2 separate regions of the Homo sapiens genome follow, and region 1 is linked to region 2. The links are contacts of gene promoters, found by promoter capture Hi-C in blood cells and fetal thymus (Javierre and others, 2016). All regions are on one chromosome and are shown on one strand. Each heading gives the region's core, a stretch centred on a gene start or on the middle of the fragment in contact. The rest is flanking DNA. Distances are from core to core; before and after follow the strand shown. Region 1 holds the start of MBNL3 (muscleblind like splicing regulator 3). Region 2 holds the start of FMR1-AS1 (FMR1 antisense RNA 1).

Region 1 (6,587 bases), core at 1,603-4,102, about 15 Mb before region 2:
TTGTACTATAAGCAGAATAAAAGTAAAATGTTATCAATAGAAATCTTCATCATTTTAGAGCTTCTCACTCCATTCCCTCCCCTCGTCCCTCACACATAAAGGCAGCTGGGTGGAGAACAAAACTGTACTAAACTATACTGTCAACATCTGCACAACAGTCAAGAGACTGTCACTGTTCCAGCATGTGTGGTACTATACAATCACTCAAAAGACAAAACCTTTTTTATTCCCAAGCTGCTGTGATACTGGGAAGTATCACAGTGAAGCTGGAGAGATAATAATACACCTACTGGTCAAAAGCATGAAGTATACAAGTGCCTGGAAGTACAATGAGAGGCAAGAGAACCCTTTAGAAGCAAATACAATGCAGACAACTAGGGGAATGTACATTCTACTCTTCTTTGAATGTTTAGGTTCTTGTGAGTGCATAAAAATGCCTTCCGTTTAAATTAAAAGCTGTACCCAAAATCTATTCCACTGTGAGTTTATAAGCTATTCTTCTTTTTAATGTAACATTTATTAAGCACCTAGTTTGTGCAAAGCATTATCTAGGTAGAGGGTGGTGCAAGAGAATACCAAAGGTCCTTTGCTACCAGCTCATAATCATAAAAAGCAGCTGTTGTGAAATGCCTGAAGTGGACAGTTGAGGAAAAAAAAGGTACTTTATAATAGTCCTGGGAGTCATTACGATTGCTTAAAGTAGCAAAGGAAATTAGAGAAATGAAGTAGCTCTTAGAAGTAGAGCAAAACATGCAGTCACCACCTCTAGCCCAGCACTATATCAATTATCTCTCAAAACATTTTTTTTTTACAAACTCCTTCACTTATGTTTTCATATAAGGTCTCCAATCTCATCACTGTATGAGGCAGCAGAATGTTAACTGGCAAAATTTCCTAATTTCTCTGACACCAGTTTAGCTTGTCTATTCTGGCCTCAAGGTTTAGTATTTTCACTTTTCTTTCTTTCTTTTTTTCTTTTTTTTTAAGGATGCATTTGGTCCGAAGTCTTTTAGCAGCAAGGTAGCACATCCGGAAGCAAACAGTACTGAACTGGGATCTAAGTCCATAATCACTAAAAATGGGAGAAGTTGCTTTTTCTCATCCTCCCTTTACCAAAATGCAAGTGTTTATTGCTCTACCTGCAGGAACTCTCATTTTAGACATGAAGCAATGAATTGCCCCACATACTTCTTTCAAGAATAATATGAAAAACTGCTGAAAATTTGTTGTATAGTAATTCCATTGTAAACAGTTTGGTTGTTTGTTTCTAGGTAGACTACAGCACCTGGGCAGAAAACTGCACCATGCTTTAATAAGGGCAAAACAATATTTTTCTCCCTTTCCACACACTTGCTAAATTTAGTAGCAGAGCGTCTGCCAACCAAGTAGTTTCTACTGCTTTGGGAGAAGGAGTGAACAGCGATAGAATATTATCAGCTGAGCTGTGGGCAGAAGCCCATTTTAGTCTATATTTGAAGAAGTGTTGGTAAATATGAAAGCATCCCCCAAAAGTATCGCACATTAGAAAAAAGTTAAAAATTATTTTAAAAAGTAGTTAAACATTCAGGATTAGATTTTCATGGGCCAAGGAGAAGATGGAAATATAATCAGGAAAAATCCAAGGTGTCTGATAAGCCTCATTGTCTATTTACCTTTCACTGGAGGGGGAAACAAAACAAAACAAAATTCAGATAAATTGTATCAAGCATGGATGTTTAGTCATTCCCACATACCAACAATCTGTTTTCCAAACATTATATCAGTAATCACCCAAACGTTTATTCACTAAAGCAGGGAGTCCGCTTAATAAAAAAAGTACCAATCACTTCAAAATTAAATCTTGCAAGTTTTGTTTTAATTGATTCTTTCCCATGAAGTCTACCCACAAATACGGAGAGGCTGTGGGGATCCCAGCTCAATTTACAAACGATGTAAGAACATCTAGGAGAAAATAACTCCTTTAAAACATATTACTTTAATTAGAGCCACAATTAATTTATCTGTTTTATCTATCATCTAGCTAGCTAGCTAGCTAGCTAGCTATCTAAGAGTGCTCAGAAAAACACACAGTAGGTCTATTACCCTAATTATGAAACCACAACAAAGAATCACTTAAATGTCAACTTTCATTACTCGTCTGGGTTTAATTTCGTTTTCTTACCATAAAAGCTTATTGTGTGAGTGTTAAAAACTAAAGTTCCCTTTTTAATAGTCTCCTAAAATCTACTCTCATGCCCTTCAAACCCCAGTAGTAAAAGCGAGCTGCCCAAACGTGTTGACTCAGGGCAGGAAGAGACAAGGTTCTGCAAGGAAGCTGTGGCACTGCTCACGATATCGCGTGAAAATGGGGAAATTCGTTGTTAAAAAGCATTTGCTGATTATATGCCATGCAAGAAGTTCCTTTAAATTAAAAAGAAGAAAGTAGAAAAAAAGAAAGAAGGAAGGAAGGGGAGGAGGAAGAGAAGAGGAGGAAGAGAAGGAAGAAGAAAAAGGAGGAGGAGGAAAGGAGGAGGAAAATGATCAAAGCTCTAAAATCGCAACAAAGTTGCAGGATGACTTTTCCTCCTATTTGCTATTTTGTAAAATGAAGTTTAAAAGGCATTATTTCCTCGGCGTCCGAGGAAGGCAGCCTCTCTTACAAATCCCAATTCATCTCCAGCCTTACCTTACGCTGCTAGCGCAAACCCAGAGGCTAAGGGGCCCTGCTCTCAGCGGCAGCAGCAGGGGCAGCGGCAGCGACAGCGGCACATGCCATCTGTTAGCGGCAGAAGCAAAAGCAGCGCTGCGCGAGGTGGCCCCGGTGCCGGGAGAGCCTTTAGCAGGGGTGCATACTGAATGCCGCCATTTTAAAGCGAGGTTCCTGAAATCATTAGATATAAGCAAATTAAAGCCCGCCCCACCTCCAGAACTTCAGGGCTGGGACTTGCAACCCGGCTCCAAGTCGGCCGCTCTGGGGTATAAAATGTCAAGTCTACAGACACGCGCACGCTGACTCTCGGACGGAGGCGACGGTTCCCCCTCTCCCTTCGGCCCCCTTGACCCCTTCGTGCTTTTTGCAAGACTCCTTTCGGTTCCAGGGGCCAGAATACTTTCTTTTCTGGGCTCCTCGAGGCCCCTTCCCGGGGCCGGCCGGCGGGCTGTGGGAGGAGGGGACAAGGCCACGGGCCGGCCCTACCCGCTCCTCCCAGGCTCTTGGTTCAGTCCACTCGGAGCACACCTCGGAGCGCCCCAGCTCCCTCGCGGAGGCCGGGCGTGGGGCTCCCGCCCGGGCTCGCAGCTACCATAGCAACCCCGGTCCCAACCCCGCCCGGCCTTTGCCAAAGGCGTGCCCTCCTCCCGGGCCAGTGCCCTCCGCCGGACGCCAGACGTCCCCTCGCGCAGCCCCGCCGACCCCAGGCAGCCCGGGCTGGGGCCGCGCCTCCGTGCGTCCCGCGCCGGACAGACGCGGCACGCGGAGGGAAACGGCGCCAGCGAGGGGCTTTAGGCGCCAAAACGGAAACTCCCGCGAAACTCCGCGGGCCAGCGGAGCGCGGGCGGGCATCCGGAGCGCCGGACTCGGAAGCGGCGCACGCGGCCGCCCGGCCCCGCCCCGCCCGGCCAGGTAGCGCGGCGCCGCCGCCAACCTCACCTGGCTCCGCGCGCCGCTGCGGGACGGGCGGGAATGCGGCCAAGGGCCGCCCCGGCTCCCGCGCCCACCCCGGACTCTCTGGCCTCCGCCTCTCTCTCACTGCTCCCAAAGAGCGCCAAAAAGTCGCGCTGCGGCTCACGCTCGGAGTGCGGGCACTTTCTTCCTGTAGGGCGCTGTTTCGTCGCGAAATATATTCTTTGTGTGGTTCGCTCACTCGTGCCTGGTTCTCCGAGAGCGCAGCGCGGGCTTTATTCTCAGGGGGTGTGGCGCCTCGCCCCCAAACCCAGCAGCCCAGCCCCCGCTGCACAGACCCTTTGTCATTTCATTAGGAAGGGAAAGGGGGACAAATCATAACGCTCAGATTTTACAAAAGCGAAAACAAACGAAGCAGGCACACATCCCCAGAGGCGGGGTTGGGGTAGGGGTGCAAAGTTTCTGGCTCTTCAGGAACTGAAGTGCCAGTGAGAAAGGCAGTGTGGTTCACAGCGGGACGCTCATAGACACTTCCCAGACAGGTGAGGCGAAATGGGTCCTTTCAAAATTGATCTTAGTCGATGAATAAGTCCACTCGCTACAGGCTAAATAAATACATTCATACTCACCAGCTGCCTTCTTGGGGGTTTTATCTTTCATAAATGCCCCAATCGTTTATTTCCCTCTAAGAATTTCAGACAGGGAAATGCTGATCAGTGCAATCTGTTCCCCTTCTTCCACGGAGTTTGCAGGATAAGAGGAACCCTGAGGTAAGGTTCCAGATACTTTGGAAAATGGACAAAGCAAATGCAATTTTATATCTTGATTAAAAAGTGTGCATCTGCACAGGGAAATTACAAGTTTCGATTTAATGCAAGTGTAATAGGAGCACCAGCTGTCCCTTAATTGGAGCCCCACAATAATAAATGCGTGCTTTTATTTAATTTTACGAAGACAATTGTAGTTGATAACGCACACATATGCAGGATCGTCAGTGACAAGCTCATAGCAATTCATGGCTGCTTTCCTGTAATCAGCTACTTCACCCAGAGACAGAGTTCTACATGCTCTGCACAAAGTGCAAAACATTGCAGGAGATATTTAAGCAGCAGTTAGGTTGAAAAGTGGAGTGAATTCTCAGGCTAATTATACTTTTTAATTCTGATGGACTGATCCAAATAGAATTCTCCAGCTAATTTTAGGCAAGAAATCAATCTGTTTGTTAAGTGCAAGATAATAGAGTAGGATGGTAATGGCTGGGAGGACAAGACTGGGTACAAACTGCCCTTCAAATAATTGAGAAAACCCCCGATGGTTTTGGCAAGTATCGTGAAAGTCATTGGGACAATGCGCAGGGATGGTGTCCGATACTTTGTTATACTGGGTAGAAACATAGCATAAGTCAAGAGAGTAGGAGTTGCTAGTTATTTGAGAAAAGGGGGAAAAGACTCTAATTCCTAACCACCTCTTCCCACCTTCCTTCAAATTTGCCGAATTGCCTGAACTGCTGTAAAAGTCAAATGTGTCTGACATACAGGAAGTGGCTTTGGCAGTCCCAAGATCTACCACAGCAAAAAGTAGGCAGTGTTGGCTATCACAGTCAGCTAGAGAGAAGGGCATGGGTGAGTTACATAACTTTATACCCAATGCTCTAACAAATGAGGAACTGTTATCACAGTGAGTCAACAAAGGAGTCTTTATATTAAACATAGCTTGGGTCAACACCAGCTCTCTTACCTCTGTCCACCATTGCGAGCCACATCTGTGGGACATTCGGGGTTTTGCTAATAACACAAAAACTGGCTCAATCTTATTGAACTGCTGAAATAATTGTTTTGTCTTAAATTTAAGGCATAAATAGGTCAATTTGCTATTTTTTGGGATACTATAGCTTCAACATTGTCTCCTGCTTTTAATTTCTGGCCAGTGAAAATTGCAAATGAGACTTTATTATTCTCTCTTTCCCACACTGGAGGGGAAAGAAACCTTATAAACAAAGTTTAGCCTGGTAAACTGCCTTCCTTTTATCCAGGGTGGCATGACCTCCACAAATGAAGCTAGGCAAATTTCCATGCCACCAGGCCACTGGGGAATGTTGTCAAAGGCACTAAGAAATTGCTATTCCCTCCCCTCAGCATTTTAAAAAGGCCCATTTGCTCTCTGGGGTGGACTTACCTTGGAATTACTTTCTTTCCATTTTAGTAGAGTAGTTAGAGCTAGCCAACATTTTCTCTTCTGTTCTTCTCTTTAGGCATAATTGGTGGCATGACCCAGGAAAAATAGGGTCGTGTACTGACTGATATGCAAGATGAATTCTTACAATAATGTATGTACATTATAGTCTCAGAATACATATGCCTGTTCCCCCATTGCGTTTTGAGATCACCTGACAACCACTATCCTGATGGATCTTCAAAAGTCAGTGTCTTGCAACTCGGATTGAAAAATTAAGTCCCTGGCTGGGTGGAGTGGCTCACACCTGTAATCCCAGCACTTTGGGAGACCAAGGTAGGTGGATCACTTGAGGTCAGGAGTTCCAGACCAGCCTCGCCAACATGGTGAAACCCCGTCTCTACTAAAAATACAAAAATTAGCTGGGCATGGTGGCACGCACCTGTAGTCCCAGCTACTCAGGAGGCTGAGGCAGGAGGATCACTTGAGCCTGAGATCGTGCCACTGCACTCCAGCTTGGGCAACAGAGTGAGACTCTGTCTCAAATAATAATAATAATAATAGTAATAATAATAATAAGAAGAAGAAGAAGAAGAAGAAGGGAAGAAGGAGAAGGAGAAGAAGAAGAAGAAAGTCCCGTCCTTCTCTCCTACTCAGTCAAATGCAGGTGTGTAAGCAAACATTTCAACAAACCTAGGGGATATGCTTTTTCTGCTCTATGTCTTAACGCTTGAGATGGACACTTACACAAATGTAAGGCTAGGATTCTGGGTAAGGATGTAGTAACCTCTCAAGTAGCATGTTCTTCCAATAA
Region 2 (6,545 bases), core at 2,622-5,121:
TGCAAGATGTTAATAACAGGAGGAACTGTAGGGGAGGAGGGAGATTAGGAAGTACATAGAAACTCTCTCCACTATCTGCTTAATTTTTCCATAAATGTAAAACTGTTCTAAAAAATAAAGCCAATTAATTATTCTTTTTCTAATATCTCATTTGAATGAGAGGTCATGGTTAAAGGAAATTGTCAGAGAAAGTGTCAAGAAAGAAGTGTGACTTTAGCTGGGTCCTGAAGGGTACATAAGATTTGAGAGTCGGAAAGGGCAGAAGGCATTTCAGCTGGGTTTGAGCCATGGAAAAGACTCAGAGGGCTCAAATTGCGAAGGAGCAGGAAATAGCACAGAATAAATCAATGCAAAGACAACAGGCAGCAATTTAATGGAAACCAAGGGCCAAGGCAGGGCTAGAAACACTGAAGCATCATTCCAATATCAGATAAATATAGGCATGAGAGCTGACTCAACCTCGGCCGGGTCCTCAACACATATTCGTTCATTCATGTAATATTTAGTAAACATTCACTATGTTCCAGACACTGTGGTAGGCACTGGGGACAAGCAGTGAATAAAACAAATGGAAATCTTTGTTCTCACTGAGCTTACACTCTAGTGAGGGGAGAGAGACAGAACCTGTCTGCTATTTTCAAGAAACAACAAAGAAAACATTATGGCTGGAATGAGAAACAATGGCCTTTTCAATAAACAGTGCTGGAATAACTGGACATTCATATGCAAAAAATAATCTAGATACAGACCTTATATCTTTTGAAAAAAATTTACTCAAAATGGATCATAGACCTAAATGCAAAACACAAAACTGTAAAACTTCTGAAAGATAACATAGGAGAAAATCTAGGTGAACTAGATAGATTTCATGCACTGGAATGAAGTGAAGGGGGAAAGTAGAAGGTGAGATAGCGGAGATAACAGAAGTCAGAGTATATAGGGCACTGAAGCCAGAATAAATAATGACTCTGGCTTTTACTCTGAGAGATGTAGGGAGTCACTGGGGGATTGTGAGTGGCAGAGTGACTTGATTGACACCTCAACAGGGTCATTCTGTCTTCTGTGCTGAGAACTGTCAGAGAGGGTACAACAGTGGACAGTGACTGCAGGGATACCAGCGAAGAAGTTGCTGCCATAATGCAGGTAAGAGAATGGAAGCTTGGACTATGGTTTTAGCTGAGCAAATGATCAGAAACAGAGTCTGGATTCTACAATGATTTGCTGATGGATCTGATGTGTGAAAGAGGGTCAAAATGTCTCAGTTTTAGGCTTGAGCAACGAACTGGAAGGCAGGAGCTGCCTGTAACGAGAGACAGGAGAGAAAGAGAGAGAGAGAGAGAGGACTTTGGAAGAGCAGGCTCATGATCAGGCCTGAGCTCAGTGTCTGAATTCAGGTAAGCTATCTTGAAAGGGGAAATATCAAAAGCTAGAGATCAGAGTAAGGCTGAGACTCAGAGTCAAGTGGGGAAGACTAAGTTGCAGTATGTACTGGCAGTGAAGATAAGTATTTATTCATTCATTGAACATACCTTGAAATCAACCACTTTTAATGTGCCAGGGACACAAAGATAGAAAAGACATTTGCCCTGTCTGGAAGGTACTAATAATCCAATAAGGAAAACAGAAATATAAATAAATTATTCTAGTACACTAACCATCATAGTAGAGGTATTCAACATTTGTTGAGTCTCTGCTATATGCCAAGCAGTGTAATGAGGAAGCAGAGGGTATGCACAAAGTTCTACAAGAGCACAAAATAAGTTCTGGCAAAGGTTTGTAAAGACATTCACAAGGGTTTTCACCACAGTATGACTTCAGGGAGTTGGCAGTAACCTAGATGCCCGATCAGTAGGGATATGTATGAATAAAATTTCTGGCATACTCGGTAGCAAACTAGGTGTACACACAGCAATGTGGGTATAGCTCAAAAACAGACTGTTGAGTAAAACAGTGGGAAATAGAGATTTACAGTCCAATACCATCTCTGTAAATGCAAGAGGCATAAACAAAACATTATCTGTGTTAAATTATCAAGGATCTCTATCGAACATATTGCAGCTTGTGTCTAGAAGAATGAGAGTGGGGATCGAGAAAGATGAGGAAAAAATAATATAAACACTATAAAATAATGTAAACAAGGACCCTGTAGGGACTGATATGACAATGTGCTGAAAATTGAGGAGCAAAGTTAACTCTCTGTACCTGAGATAAAATAACTAGCTAATAGGAATCCAGCTGAAAACCTTAAGGTGCAGGGCCTCTATGGGGCCCAGGAAGGATGTGTAGAGACATGAACGGATGAAAGTGCATCACAGGTTCAGGGAACAACACAGGTTGAGTGTGGCTTGTAGTAAAAATGGTTGTGAAGAGTTGACATATTTTTAAGCCCTGGGTAAATTGAACAACAGCTTACACTTGGAGGGGTATAATCATTCTAATCAATGTGTCCCCTTTTACTATAATACATTGGAGTTGCAGCTAATGCTCTGCTCCCATTCAGCCTATGATGAGATTCTCTTTCAGCCCTATTGGGTTCTTGGCCTCATGTGACTACTCCAAAGACCCTAGTCCAAAAGGTCTTTCCTGTTTGCTATGGCCTTGAGGAATGTGGCCCTAGATCCACCGCTTTAAAGCTGGAGTTCCACCAGCAGCAACATCCTCTCATTCTGGGGCACCTGCCTGGGGCAGGTCATCCTGCCTCTGCCAACTCAGTGCTATTAGTTAACTCTCACCTGCCATATTCCAGCTGGAATCATCTCCCCTTCTCCACCCCAGACTAGGTCATGTTCCGCCATCATGGAAGCGCCTATTCTTCATACCCCTTATCACAGCTGCAACTACTCATTTACTTGTCTGACAATTTGATTTATGTCCACCTACTTTGCTAGGTACTAAGTTCAATGCTGGCAGTCGTTTCTTCTTTTTTTTTCTTTTCTGTTTTGCTCACCGATTTCTCGTTAGCACTTAGCACAGTGTCTGGCACACGATAGATGCTCCGTCAACTTCTCAGTTGGATACCAGCATCCCGAAGGGAACATGGATTAAGGCAGCTATAAGCACGGTGTAAAAACAGGAATAAGAAAAAGTTGAGGTTTGTTTCACAGTGGAATGTAAAGGGTTGCAAGGAGGTGCATCGGCCCCTGTGGACAGGACGCATGACTGCTACACACGTGTTCACCCCACCCTCTGGCACAGGGTGCACATACAGTAGGGGCAGAAATGAACCTCAAGTGCTTAACACAATTTTTAAAAAATATATAGTCAAGTGAAAGTATGAAAATGAGTTGAGGAAAGGCGAGTACGTGGGTCAAAGCTGGGTCTGAGGAAAGGCTCACATTTTGAGATCCCGACTCAATCCATGTCCCTTAAAGGGCACAGGGTGTCTCCACAGGGCCGCCCAAAATCTGGTGAGAGAGGGCGTAGACGCCTCACCTTCTGCCTCTACGGGTCACAAAAGCCTGGGTCACCCTGGTTGCCACTGTTCCTAGTTCAAAGTCTTCTTCTGTCTAATCCTTCACCCCTATTCTCGCCTTCCACTCCACCTCCCGCTCAGTCAGACTGCGCTACTTTGAACCGGACCAAACCAAACCAAACCAAACCAAACCAAACCAGACCAGACACCCCCTCCCGCGGAATCCCAGAGAGGCCGAACTGGGATAACCGGATGCATTTGATTTCCCACGCCACTGAGTGCACCTCTGCAGAAATGGGCGTTCTGGCCCTCGCGAGGCAGTGCGACCTGTCACCGCCCTTCAGCCTTCCCGCCCTCCACCAAGCCCGCGCACGCCCGGCCCGCGCGTCTGTCTTTCGACCCGGCACCCCGGCCGGTTCCCAGCAGCGCGCATGCGCGCGCTCCCAGGCCACTTGAAGAGAGAGGGCGGGGCCGAGGGGCTGAGCCCGCGGGGGGAGGGAACAGCGTTGATCACGTGACGTGGTTTCAGTGTTTACACCCGCAGCGGGCCGGGGGTTCGGCCTCAGTCAGGCGCTCAGCTCCGTTTCGGTTTCACTTCCGGTGGAGGGCCGCCTCTGAGCGGGCGGCGGGCCGACGGCGAGCGCGGGCGGCGGCGGTGACGGAGGCGCCGCTGCCAGGGGGCGTGCGGCAGCGCGGCGGCGGCGGCGGCGGCGGCGGCGGCGGAGGCGGCGGCGGCGGCGGCGGCGGCGGCGGCTGGGCCTCGAGCGCCCGCAGCCCACCTCTCGGGGGCGGGCTCCCGGCGCTAGCAGGGCTGAAGAGAAGATGGAGGAGCTGGTGGTGGAAGTGCGGGGCTCCAATGGCGCTTTCTACAAGGTACTTGGCTCTAGGGCAGGCCCCATCTTCGCCCTTCCTTCCCTCCCTTTTCTTCTTGGTGTCGGCGGGAGGCAGGCCCGGGGCCCTCTTCCCGAGCACCGCGCCTGGGTGCCAGGGCACGCTCGGCGGGATGTTGTTGGGAGGGAAGGACTGGACTTGGGGCCTGTTGGAAGCCCCTCTCCGACTCCGAGAGGCCCTAGCGCCTATCGAAATGAGAGACCAGCGAGGAGAGGGTTCTCTTTCGGCGCCGAGCCCCGCCGGGGTGAGCTGGGGATGGGCGAGGGCCGGCGGCAGGTACTAGAGCCGGGCGGGAAGGGCCGAAATCGGCGCTAAGTGACGGCGATGGCTTATTCCCCCTTTCCTAAACATCATCTCCCAGCGGGATCCGGGCCTGTCGTGTGGGTAGTTGTGGAGGAGCGGGGGGCGCTTCAGCCGGGCCGCCTCCTGCAGCGCCAAGAGGGCTTCAGGTCTCCTTTGGCTTCTCTTTTCCGGTCTAGCATTGGGACTTCGGAGAGCTCCACTGTTCTGGGCGAGGGCTGTGAAGAAAGAGTAGTAAGAAGCGGTAGTCGGCACCAAATCACAATGGCAACTGATTTTTAGTGGCTTCTCTTTGTGGATTTCGGAGGAGATTTTAGATCCAAAAGTTTCAGGAAGACCCTAACATGGCCCAGCAGTGCATTGAAGAAGTTGATCATCGTGAATATTCGCGTCCCCCTTTTTGTTAAACGGGGTAAATTCAGGAATGCACATGCTTCAGCGTCTAAAACCATTAGCAGCGCTGCTACTTAAAAATTGTGTGTGTGTGTTTAAGTTTCCAAAGACCTAAATATATGCCATGAAACTTCAGGTAATTAACTGAGAGTATATTATTACTAGGGCATTTTTTTTTTAACTGAGCGAAAATATTTTTGTGCCCCTAAGAACTTGACCACATTTCCTTTGAATTTGTGGTGTTGCAGTGGACTGAATTGTTGAGGCTTTATATAGGCATTCATGGGTTTACTGTGCTTTTTAAAGTTACACCATTGCAGATCAACTAACACCTTTCAGTTTTAAAAGGAAGATTTACAAATTTGATGTAGCAGTAGTGCGTTTGTTGGTATGTAGGTGCTGTATAAATTCATCTATAAATTCTCATTTCCTTTTGAATGTCTATAACCTCTTTCAATAATATCCCACCTTACTACAGTATTTTGGCAATAGAAGGTGCGTGTGGAAGGAAGGCTGGAAAATAGCTATTAGCAGTGTCCAACACAATTCTTAAATGTATTGTAGAATGGCTTGAATGTTTCAGACAGGACACGTTTGGCTATAGGAAAATAAACAATTGACTTTATTCTGTGTTTACCAATTTTATGAAGACATTTGGAGATCAGTATATTTCATAAATGAGTAAAGTATGTAAACTGTTCCATACTTTGAGCACAAAGATAAAGCCTTTTGCTGTAAAAGGAGGCAAAAGGTAACCCCGCGTTTATGTTCTTAACAGTCTCATGAATATGAAATTGTTTCAGTTGACTCTGCAGTCAAAATTTTAATTTCATTGATTTTATTGATCCATAATTTCTTCTGGTGAGTTTGCGTAGAATCGTTCACGGTCCTAGATTAGTGGTTTTGGTCACTAGATTTCTGGCACTAATAACTATAATACATATACATATATATGTGTGAGTAACGGCTAATGGTTAGGCAAGATTTTGATTGACCTGTGATATAAACTTAGATTGGATGCCACTAAAGTTTGCTTATCACAGAGGGCAAGTAGCACATTATGGCCTTGAAGTACTTATTGTTCTCTTCCAGCAACTTATGATTTGCTCCAGTGATTTTGCTTGCACACTGACTGGAATATAAGAAATGCCTTCTATTTTTGCTATTAATTCCCTCCTTTTTTGTTTTGTTTTGTAACGAAGTTGTTTAACTTGAAGGTGAATGAAGAATAGGTTGGTTGCCCCTTAGTTCCCTGAGGAGAAATGTTAATACTTGAACAAGTGTGTGTCAGACAAATTGCTGTTATGTTTATTTAATTAAGTTTGATTTCTAAGAAAATCTCAAATGGTCTGCACTGATGGAAGAACAGTTTCTGTAACAAAAAAGCTTGAAATTTTTATATGACTTATAATACTGCTGTGAGTTTTAAAAGTAAAGCAAAAGTAAACTGAGTTGCTTGTCCAGTGGGATGGACAGGAAAGATGTGAAATAAAAACCAATGAAAAATGAACTGCTGTGGAGAAGTGTTACATTTATGGAAAAAGAAATA

What was found. Contacts are between HindIII fragments. The CHiCAGO score rates a contact against its expected background, and 5 or more counts as called.
Region 1: the fragment with the promoter of MBNL3 here is called in contact with the fragment with the promoter of FMR1-AS1 in region 2 in 1 of 17 cell types (monocytes); the score reaches 5.4 in monocytes.

Annotation. Positions count from the first base shown.
Region 1 is chrX:132,486,186-132,492,772 of GRCh38, forward strand. MBNL3 (muscleblind like splicing regulator 3) reads right to left here and starts at 2,853. Exons shown (of 9, transcript NM_001386889.1): 1 at 2,666-2,853. RefSeq lists a silencer at 3,132-3,701 and an enhancer at 5,647-6,587. The HindIII fragment of the contact is 7,236 bases long and covers 2,168-6,587 here.
Region 2 is chrX:147,907,946-147,914,490 of GRCh38, forward strand. FMR1-AS1 (FMR1 antisense RNA 1) reads right to left here and starts at 3,872. Exons shown (of 2, transcript NR_024503.3): 1 at 3,697-3,872; 2 at 1,486-3,050. FMR1 (fragile X messenger ribonucleoprotein 1) reads left to right here and starts at 3,974. Exons shown (of 17, transcript NM_002024.6): 1 at 3,974-4,285. The coding sequence starts at 4,235. RefSeq lists enhancers at 3,505-3,714, 4,295-4,394 and a silencer at 3,795-4,134. The HindIII fragment of the contact is 5,224 bases long and covers 1,157-6,380 here.